3 separate regions of the Homo sapiens genome follow, and all the other regions are linked to region 1. The links are contacts of gene promoters, found by promoter capture Hi-C in human tissues and cell types (Jung and others, 2019). All regions are on one chromosome and are shown on one strand. Each heading gives the region's core, a stretch centred on a gene start or on the middle of the fragment in contact. The rest is flanking DNA. Distances are from core to core; before and after follow the strand shown. Region 1 holds the start of ZNF148 (zinc finger protein 148). Region 2 overlaps SLC12A8 (solute carrier family 12 member 8). Region 3 overlaps SLC12A8 (solute carrier family 12 member 8).

Evidence for each region. The method cuts DNA at HindIII sites, captures the fragments that hold promoters and counts their contacts. A contact is called where the count stands out against the background at its distance.
Region 2: a contact is called between a fragment that was not itself captured here and the fragment with the promoter of ZNF148 in region 1, in 1 of the 25 tissues and cell types used here (mesenchymal stem cells).
Region 3: a fragment that was not itself captured here is called in contact with the fragment with the promoter of ZNF148 in region 1 in 1 of the 25 tissues and cell types used here (IMR-90 fibroblasts).

The regions. Positions count from the first base shown.
Region 1 is chr3:125,373,820-125,377,111 of GRCh38, forward strand. It overlaps ZNF148 (zinc finger protein 148), which reads right to left and starts at 1,506. Exons shown (of 9, transcript NM_021964.3): 1 at 1,283-1,506. LOC105374080 (a long non-coding RNA gene) reads left to right here and starts at 1,607. Exons shown (of 3, transcript XR_924427.3): 1 at 1,607-3,233. RefSeq lists a silencer at 1,241-1,290 and enhancers at 1,401-1,670, 1,781-1,830. The HindIII fragment of the contact is 11,832 bases long and covers 1-3,292 here.
Region 2 is chr3:125,109,021-125,112,008 of GRCh38, forward strand. It overlaps SLC12A8 (solute carrier family 12 member 8), which reads right to left. Exons shown (of 14, transcript NM_024628.6): 9 at 1,169-1,315. Among named protein-coding and RNA genes, the nearest start is that of MIR5092, 41 kb to the right of the region's middle. RefSeq lists enhancers at 1-147, 1,607-1,816, 2,107-2,156. The HindIII fragment of the contact is 6,091 bases long and covers 1-2,988 here.
Region 3 is chr3:125,092,431-125,095,693 of GRCh38, forward strand. The region is part of intron 10 of SLC12A8 (solute carrier family 12 member 8); the gene reads right to left. Among named protein-coding and RNA genes, the nearest start is that of DAGARR, 33 kb to the left of the region's middle. The HindIII fragment of the contact is 9,463 bases long and covers 1-3,263 here.

The sequences.
Region 1 (3,292 bases), core at 256-2,755:
CCAACTAATTTGAGCTACAAATGAAGTATCTAAAGAAGAGCCAGCAAGCATGTCTTCCCCCCGACCATTAATTATAATCTTGTGTACTGCAATCCAGGCTGAATAATACGGCACCAATTCTCCTGGACCAGATAAACTGGGCAGTGAAGAAAACCACCAAGTCAATTAATTTCCATTCCAGCGTTTGCCAGGATAGTATTTACCCAACCTCGGGTAAGTGTTAATACTTCAAATTTTCTAAAATCGAAGCTCCATAGCCTAAGGAATCCCCACAGGCCAGACCCTTTCTCAAGGTCTGCTTCAGAGGTTCTCATACTCATTGGTGCACGTCTAAAATGTCACAGACCAAACTACAGACTAAAATCTAATTCTCAGTGACCCCAACCACGGCCCAGACCCACACTTACCAGATGTCATCTACTGAACAGCCCACACAGGTTCGGAACTAGGCCATCCCGGCCCATCTGGAATAACTCTTCAGTACTTAGGCCAATATTTATTAATTATACTACATCTGTCTATTCTATTATGCATTCCCTGCATCTTCTCTACTATTTAGCACTCCCTCTTGCTTCAAACGCGATCCTTTCTATTCACGGGAACTCCTATCTCCCTTCTTTCCTTCCCTGAGAAACGCTTCAGTTCTTTCCATAATGAAATACCTAACGTATCTGCACAATGAACACCCCCCAGAATCCTCAAGACTCCTCCACAGCCACCTCCCCGCATTCCTCCACCTCTCCGGCATCTTTCCTCCGGCCCCTCGCCCTGTTCGCACTCCCACTACGTTTCCTGCAAGCATTCCCTTTTCTCCAACCCCTGCCCTTCCCTTCTCCCAAAGAGCACACTCCGGCAGCAACAGTGACTGAGGCCTGCGGTGCATAAAGCACTGCACCAGGCACGGTGGACAGAGCCCTGGTGTCTCCCTAGCCTTTTCACACCCACACCCAGCACCCTCCGGCCTCCCCGTGCAAACATCCCACCTCCTCCCCTACCTCTGACACCCGCCTCCAGCCTCGGAGGCCGCCTTCTCGCCTCCGCCACCCCCGTCATTATCCCTCCTCAACCCCCCAACCCACCCTCCGCGCCCTGCTTCCTCACGTCCCCCAGCCAGCCCCAGCGTTTCCCTCGGCCTCGGCTGGCCCCCTGGCCACCCCCAGCCTCGCCACGGCTCGCTCCCCCCGGGGTCAGGCCGTTACCGCCGCGCGCTCCCCCCGCGCGCCGCCCCCTCCCCCTCCCCCGCCCTCCCCCGGGCCCGGGCCTGCCAGGCCGAGCGCTTTACCGCGGGCGGGCGCCGAGTCGCGCGGTCACCGACTGCAGGCGGCGGCAGCTCCAACCTTTCTAGGGGCCTTGAGAGGAGGGGAAGGGGGGAGGGGGGAGAACTTTTGCTGTGGCAGCTTCGGCAACAGCTCCCACCCCTGCGCCTTTCTCCTCTTCCTCCCCCTCCTCCTCCTCCTCCTCTTCCTCCTTCTCTTCCTCCTCCCAGAGCAGTAGAGACGCAGACATGCCGCAGCTAGAGCGCCGCCGCGGTCGCCGCCACTGCCGGCCCGGTGCATTGTGGGAAGCCCCGCACACGGGAAGCGCTCCGCGGCGCCCGCCCTCGTCTGGCGCAGAGACCTGGCTGGAAAGACACAGCGTGGCTTCGATTCCGGCGCCTGCGTGTCACCAGCCCAGGGTGGCCGTGGAAGCTGGACCCGAGCCGCAGGCCCCCCAGGCTGGGCCTGGGAGGAAAGCGGTTTGAAAAAGATCGGAACTGAGGAACTCTCTTAGAGCGGGGGACTCCCTGCTCCTACAGCCTTAACCAATGCCCAGCGCTTGGAAAGTGGAGGACTCGGGGATTCGGGAGCGTTTCAGGCCTGGGGAAATGGAAGGGTCGGGGACCTAGGTGAAAGGTTATTTGCCAGAAATGTCTTGGCTTTTTCATTTATTCTGTCTTACCTAGCCCTTCGCCGCCACCTCCAGTCGTTGGCCTCTTACCACCTTCAAATGCCACCTTTTCCGGAAGATGTAGCCCTGCGCCCTTGAAACTGGCAAACCCTATTAGTGTCTGCAAGCTGAGATGCAGGGTGTGGGCATAGACACAGATCAAGAGATCCGGCCCTGGACCCTCTTGGGCAGAACCTTGCCCTTCTCATTTCACCTGAAGCCCAAACTTTGTATGGCAAAGACTTGGTAATGATCTCTATAGAGCTAGGATTACACAGTTGTCTCATCCTTTGGGGGCCCTTTAGCCAAACTGTGACCTCCTTAATGGTGCCTTCGTCAGCTAACATTAGGCGCCCTGAGGTGCTTCTGCATACTGCCATCGTTTACAATTACTCATCTTTGTGTACACACCCTAGCACAAGGTCAGCCATATAACATAAAAGATGCTCAGTGAATGTTGAGTAATTGTGAGCATCTGGAACTTGCCGTGGGATAAAACGCGTTCATTGGGATTTCTTCATAATAATATGAAGATTCCATTTAGCGCCTCTCTGCAATACTTAAACGTAACCTTTGAGGGGAGAGGGAAAAGAAAAGGCATGAAAATATCTATAGAGCCATTTCTGGTGTTCTCCTTCCCTTTTCCACACCCGCCTTCCCACCCCTTGCCAACTAAATGTTCATTTGAATAGTGCTTTTTGGCAAAATTCCAAACTCCTGCATTATGCACTTGTGATGACACTGAATTAGATTAGTGTCTGCAAGGTTAATGTTCCCTCAGGCATTAACCTTAGTAAATCGTGATGCCTGTTTAGAAATAGCTAAGGCCCAGAGGTTCAGCTTAATTTAGACACAGGTAACTAAGAGCAAGAGTAAACCACAGCTCCACAATCAACTCTCTCTGTGTGCTTTCTCCATTAAAAAATATAAATTTTAATAAGATGACCGCACATATTCTGAATGTTAATTGCAACAAAACAATGACACAAGTTAGAGCCAAGGGACAGTTATCTGGAGGACAGCCTTCTGGCAACTTCTAGCACCCGCAGTGGCATCAAATTCAGACGTCATAATGAAAAACACCTCTGGCAGCAAGAAAGCCGACTCTCAGTATTAGGCAGTGGGAAAACTAATAACTGAAAAGGGCTCAAGGCCTGGAGGTTACATCCAATGGGCTAGGATTGATTGGTTTGCTATTAGGAATAGATCTAGTTCTCTGCTCAGCAGCCTAACAAGCGATAGAGAAACAGCTGTCTAAAATGGGCAGAACGAAGAGCACTACAGGGATAGTAACAGCAAAAGCGATGGTGAGGAGCAAGCTTAGGTCCTTTATAAGTTAAACTGGAAAAACTTCTCAGCTTCAGGT
Region 2 (2,988 bases), core at 180-2,679, 260 kb before region 1:
CTTGGGCCAAAAGCAACAGTCACTTCTCAGTCCCTGTCTTCTTTAACCCAGCTGGCTACTCAGTCCTCTTCGAAACACTTTCTTCACCTTACTTCTCCTGATTGGCCTCCCTCTTCACTGGCTGCTCCTTCTTGGTTTCTGTGGCTGGCTTTTCACGTCTCTGAACTCCACATTTAAAGCAGCCCCAGGCTCCATCCTCAGATCTCTATCTGTACTCCCTCCCTTGGTGAGCTCAACTAGGCTCACGGCTTTGAATACCGGCATTATACTGACAACTTCCAAATTTGAATCTCCAGCCTAAAACATTCCCCTGAAACCCAGGTTTACATATCCAACTGCCTACTCAACATTTCCAGTGAACGTCTAATAGGATCTCAAACGGACTATGTCCAAAACCAAACTGCATTTTTGGAGGAAGATAAAGGAAGAAATCAAGGATAAGTTGCAACGATGTGTTCCCTAAACCAGAGAGAGGCTGAAAATTGGAAGCGGCTGGGGAGGCCCTCTGGGGTACCCCAACAAGACAAAAATGAACTCTAGCTTGCAAACCATATTAGTGGGAAATGGGATTCTCTGTTTATGTCTCTTTGGTCCTCCCCTGGACTTTAGGAATGTCTATTTTAATCATTCCAGCCATGTCTCAACTGAGCTGCCCTTTATGTATCAGTTAAGGTTTGGTTCATGATGGTTAACAGGAAGTGTAGACGCCAGAGGTGTAGGAAATCATCAAACAGCAACCCCCAAGGGGCGGTTGAAACTCAAGGGCAGAGTTAGAGCTGCAAGGACCAGCTCGCCTCCTGACCAAAACACGCTTTCTTCTATGCTAAACCTGGAGGATCCTGAATTCATTTTCATTAAAGGATGGGGCACTGCATTTTCATGCTGCTCAGGGTCCAAGATGGTACTAGGACTGGTTAGCTAACCCAGTCCTAAAAGTGCTAAGGGGCTGGGTGGCTGGGACATTTAAGATGCTTCATCTACTTAGCCCTAACCTAAGCCAGCCAGAGGACAGGGCTGAAAGAAATGACCTCTGCATTATTTTCTGTGTCACCCCAAAGAAATTGACCAGAGGCTCTGATCAGAAAAGCTTAACCAATTGATGGGCCAACAGTGAGGTTAGCAGCAAAACATGTTTCAAAAAACAAACCAAAAAAAGAGGATTACTCACCCCTTGTCCCAGACAGGCAAGTGCAGGGATCACTTTCTCCTGGGCAATGCACTGCAGGATGCGGGGAGCTCCATAAAGTCCTCCCATGCAGGAAGCCAGGGACGAGATGTATAAGCCCAAAAGGAACAGGAAGCCCATGAGGGATACCTGTGTGAGAAGCGGTTTCATTCGCCAGTGCCAGAACCTGCTCCTGTGCCTTTCTACCCCCCCAGCACCCACCCACCTGCACCCCATGCAATCATCCACTGAGTCGTCTAGATCTGATCCCTGGGATACAGTTTCCACATCCCCAGCCTCGCCCCCATTCATTCCATGGTTTCAGCTGAATCCACCACCACATTTCATATGGATTGCACAGTGGTCCTCAAATGAAGCGTCTGCCAGACTCAGCTGCAGGGCTTGCTAAACACAAACTTCTGGGCCCCTCCTCAGAGTTCCTGGTTCAGTAGGCTTGGGGTGGGGCCTAGAAATCTGGATTCCGCATGCGTTCCCAGAGACCACACTTTGAGAACAAACTGGCCAACCACAATGCTCATTGGCCTCTTGCCTTTAAGCTCACCCTTAAAGATGAGTTTAAATCTTCAGATGATTCACTCTGAATCATCCCCTAAGCCTCTGTTCTCTAAACTCAAATCTGACCACAATGTCTCCGTTGCAGATATATCAAAATCTCCCCCTGTCCTGACATATAAGGCTCTTCATGGTCTGTGACCTCTTTAGCTCCACACCCTGCACACTGAAAGTCTGATCAGCATGATTTTTCTGTCTGTAGGAAGCCTCTGTTCACACGCCCTAATCTACTCATTGTCTGTTAAACTCCTAATTGTGCTACAAAACTCAGCACCAACCTCACCTCCACTGTGAGGCCATCCCCTCTTCCCTGACTACAGTAGTTGCTTCTCAGTGCTCCATAGCATCCCCAACATGATGTTAGGATAGCACCTATCGTGGTGCCCCCTCCACTAATCTGGAGGCTTCATTTAAGCAGGCCTTCTGTCTTGTTTACCCTAGAATTCTTGGTGCCCAACACAGAAATATAAATGACGAATGAATGAATGAGATCCATGACCCACAAGGCACCAACAGATAGAATAAGAGGGCACAGCTGTTCTTCTTGGTGTCAACTTGCAAAAGATCAGGGTCCAAGATGTTACTAGCTAACTCAGGGCTAAAAGTGCTAAGGGGCTGGGTGGCTGCATGACTGCTTGCCATGCACAGCCAGATCCCAAGCTGTCACTCATGAATTCACCCTCCTGGGCCAGATCTCATCTGTACCCACAGGAAAGCATCTTTGTTTTCTTATTTGAGGTGCCCTTTCCATTCTACTTTCCTTTAGGCACAATGGCCAGAACTGTACATTCCAAGTACTCATGCGTCCAATGCTTACAGATAGGTTAGAGTTAATATTCAGCTTTGTCACTTACACCCTTCTTGATGAAGGCTCTCCTCACCCCATTTTTTACTTCCTTGCATCAGCAAAGCACCGGATTCGTGTCACCAAGCTACATTGAACACAAGCCACTGGCTAGACTTCTTTCCTGGCTCATAAATTATCACTGGAATAATTTGACTGATGGATGAATCAGTCAGGACAGTTGATTGGAAAAAAAAAATTTCTTTAAAAAAGAATATATTTGTAGGACACTGGTGGTTTGTAGAATCATCAGGAGGCTAAAGGATGAGGCTCAGAAAAGGGCAGGACCAAGCCTGGAGGCACACCCAGCCTCTTCCCCAGGAACAGCTTGGCCAGGATGCTGCCAACACCCCTGCTGCCCTGTGGATGGATTCTCACCAGCTCTTTATCTTTACTTCATTGGTTA
Region 3 (3,263 bases), core at 417-2,916, 280 kb before region 1:
TCAAGGCACAACTGTCCAGATATGTCATCTGGGGCAACTGGAAGCTCAGCTCTCCCCTCTTTTTCAGATGTAAGGTGTTAGAGTGGGAGAACTAGACATCTGGTATTCTTGGCTTCCAGGTGTGACCACCGGGACTGCTAGGGCAGGTTGGCTTTTGTCTAATGAGAGATGGTCTTTGCTACCTTCTGACTCTGAAAGTTAGCTCGTGTTAGACCTGTCTCAGGTATCAACCAGAAACTGATGAAGGAGAAAGATGGAGGGAGAATAGCTCCTCTGATTCCTTCCTCTGGCAATTGAAATGGCTGAGGGGAAAGGGGCCTGGCAATAAACAAATGCATGATCCTGCCTCATCCTTTCAGGCACAACAGGGCTTTCAGAGCTATGTCATGTTCTATTCAGCTCTGCATTCTCAGTTTACAGCTGGCTCCAGAAGCGCTCAATTTAAAAATAATAATAATTTTTTAATGTCAGAGTAGTGAAGTTTGGGCTTTTAGTGTAAGCCTCACCCAAATAGTGTACACTGTAGCCATTAGGCAATTTCTCATCTCTCAATCCCACCCTCCTACCTTTCCGAGTCTCCAAAGTCTATTACTCCACAATCTATGTCAATGTGTACACATTATTTAGCTCCCACTTATAAGTGAAGACATGAGGCATTTGACTTTCTATTTCTGCAGAAATGCTCAATTTAACTATGAAAATGCATCTAGATTGTTTAACAATATGGTCTAATCACCATGAACACCACAATAATGTTTCAAATAAATGATATGTTGAATTAACTTCGCAGTATGTTTATACTTCATTTCAACACTAAAACTTCAGGTGTTCTCAACCTTCATAGTTTGTTGCTCAGGAAATATAGTAGAAAGCTCCCTACATAGCCCTTCTCTGTTCTCCAATATCAAATTTCCACTTCAGCCAAACTCTCTTGACTGTGTCATCTCCTCTGCCCAGCCCTTCCTTCTTCACTACGGTCCAAATCCTGTCTCATATACCAGTGTTCTTCCCCATGTCAACCACTCCTGATGTGTTGGTTCCTGGAATCTATCTGGGATCCACGTCTCATGGATCCCCTAGCCCTCTGCTTATCTAACTCCTATGCATCCCTCAGCTCAGTTATCACTTCCTCAGGGAAATCAGCCCCCACAGGAAAATCTAAATATATTCCCACATACCATTAATATTTCCTTATGGCCCATTTCCTTCACAGCACTTACCATCATTTGTAGTTGTATACTTATTTACATGTTTCTATGCCCATTGGATTATATGCTTCATGGGGGCAGGGTCCACATCCATCTTGAGCCTAGGGCTTGGCATGTAGCAGAACTCACTAAGTATTCCTAGCCCAAGTCTCCCATCCTCTCTGGTCACTGTTGCTTTATGACCTAGCCCCTTTGAAGCACATGCCATCAGACTATTTCACACCCTACCCTTCATCATTACAGTCTTTTACCAACTTGTCATTCTTCTCTTGCTTGTTAAATATTTCAGCCCCTGGTTCACCATCTTTTTCTCTATCAGCATCCATTGTCATCATTGGTGACTTCTACAAAAACAACTCATCCAAAGCCCTACTTTCTCGATTCCTTGAAATCCTCATACTAATAATCTTTTCTTTCACTCATCCCAACTGTCAACTCCCTTAGCTGCACTTGCGGTGTGTCATTACCAGTAACCTTACACTTCCTAAATCATGACTTTCAGCAATCTACTCTCAGCCCATAACCTCCTTTAAAAGCAACGTTAAGCTCATTTGCTCTGCTGTTCCTCATTCCAACCATTCATAGTCTACAGAGGGACCTTTAGATAGTTTGCCTTAGTATGTTTTTGATTTCCATCACCTACCTCCCGCTTTCCCTAACCTCTTACCTACATACACATCTGCTCCCATGCTTCAGAATTACTCAGCAGCCTCATACCTAGGCAACTCATCCTCCTACTCTCTGATAGAACAAATTTACAAGCTCTCTTCTCCAAAGAGAACTTTTCATGTTCTCTCATCACCCAATTAGCCAATTCACTTGCATCTATACCCTCTATTCTGCCTTCCTTCCTTTCACGGTGGATGAACAGCCTCTGATCCTAACTAAGGCCCATCCCTCCACTTGTGCCAGGATCCCATCCCTTTTGGCCTGTTCAAGGACTTTGTTCTCACATCATCAATTTTTCTGTCCCCTACTGAATCATTCCCAACAAATACAAATATACTGTCTTCTCTCCCACCTAAACAAATGTCTACAGCTCACCCCTAGTTATTGTCCTATTGCTGTCTCTCCCTTATAGCAAACCTCCTCAAAAGAATTGCCTATGCAGTCTCTATATCCCATTATTTCCTCAACCCACTCTTATGATTGTATCTACTTTTCCACTAAAACTACTCTTACCAAAGTTGCCAATGATTTGAATCTTTTCAAATTCTGTGGTCAACTCCTAGCCCTCATCCCATTTGATCTTTCAGGCAGCATCTGATACATGTGATCACTTTCTCCTTCTTGGAAAAATTATCCTCTAAGATGCCTCACTCTCTTGATTTTTCTATGTCACTGCCCACTCTCTCAGTCTTCTTTGCTGGCTCGCCTCCTCCTTCCAACCTGAAAATATTGGAGTATTCCAACATTCAGTCTTCAGCACTCCTTTTTTCCATGTATACCCACTCCTAAGAGATTTCTTCTAGTCTCATGGCTTTAAATGCTACTGATATATTGATGACTCCAAGTTTACATCATCCTCGACCTCTCCCTTGAACTTAAGTTTTGAATAGCTCATTGTCTTCTCAGTATCACCCATTAGTTGGCTAATAAGCACCTTAAACTTAACATGACTAACACAGAAATCTATTCACCTCAAATCTTCATTTGAATAAATAACACCACCATTTACACAAACATGTAAGATTCATCCTGACTCCCTTCTTTCTCTCACACCTATACTTATTCCATCCATAAACCTTGTTTATTCTACTATCAGAATATATTCTGGATACAATGACTCCTCACTGCCTCCATTGCTCCCATCCTAGTCCAACCCACTTTCATCTTTCATCCATTTACTGCAGCGGGCTCCTGTGGTACAGACCCCAGCTAGAGTACAGTCCACAGGATTTCTCACTGTTAGGTGTAACCATGTGACTAAGTTCTCAGCAACAGAATGTGAACAGAAGCAGTGAGTGCCACTCCTGGCCCAAGGTCTTTAAGAGAATGTGTGCCTCTTCTCTGTGCACTTTCCCCTTCCTCTGCCTGAAATCTGAATGTGGTAAC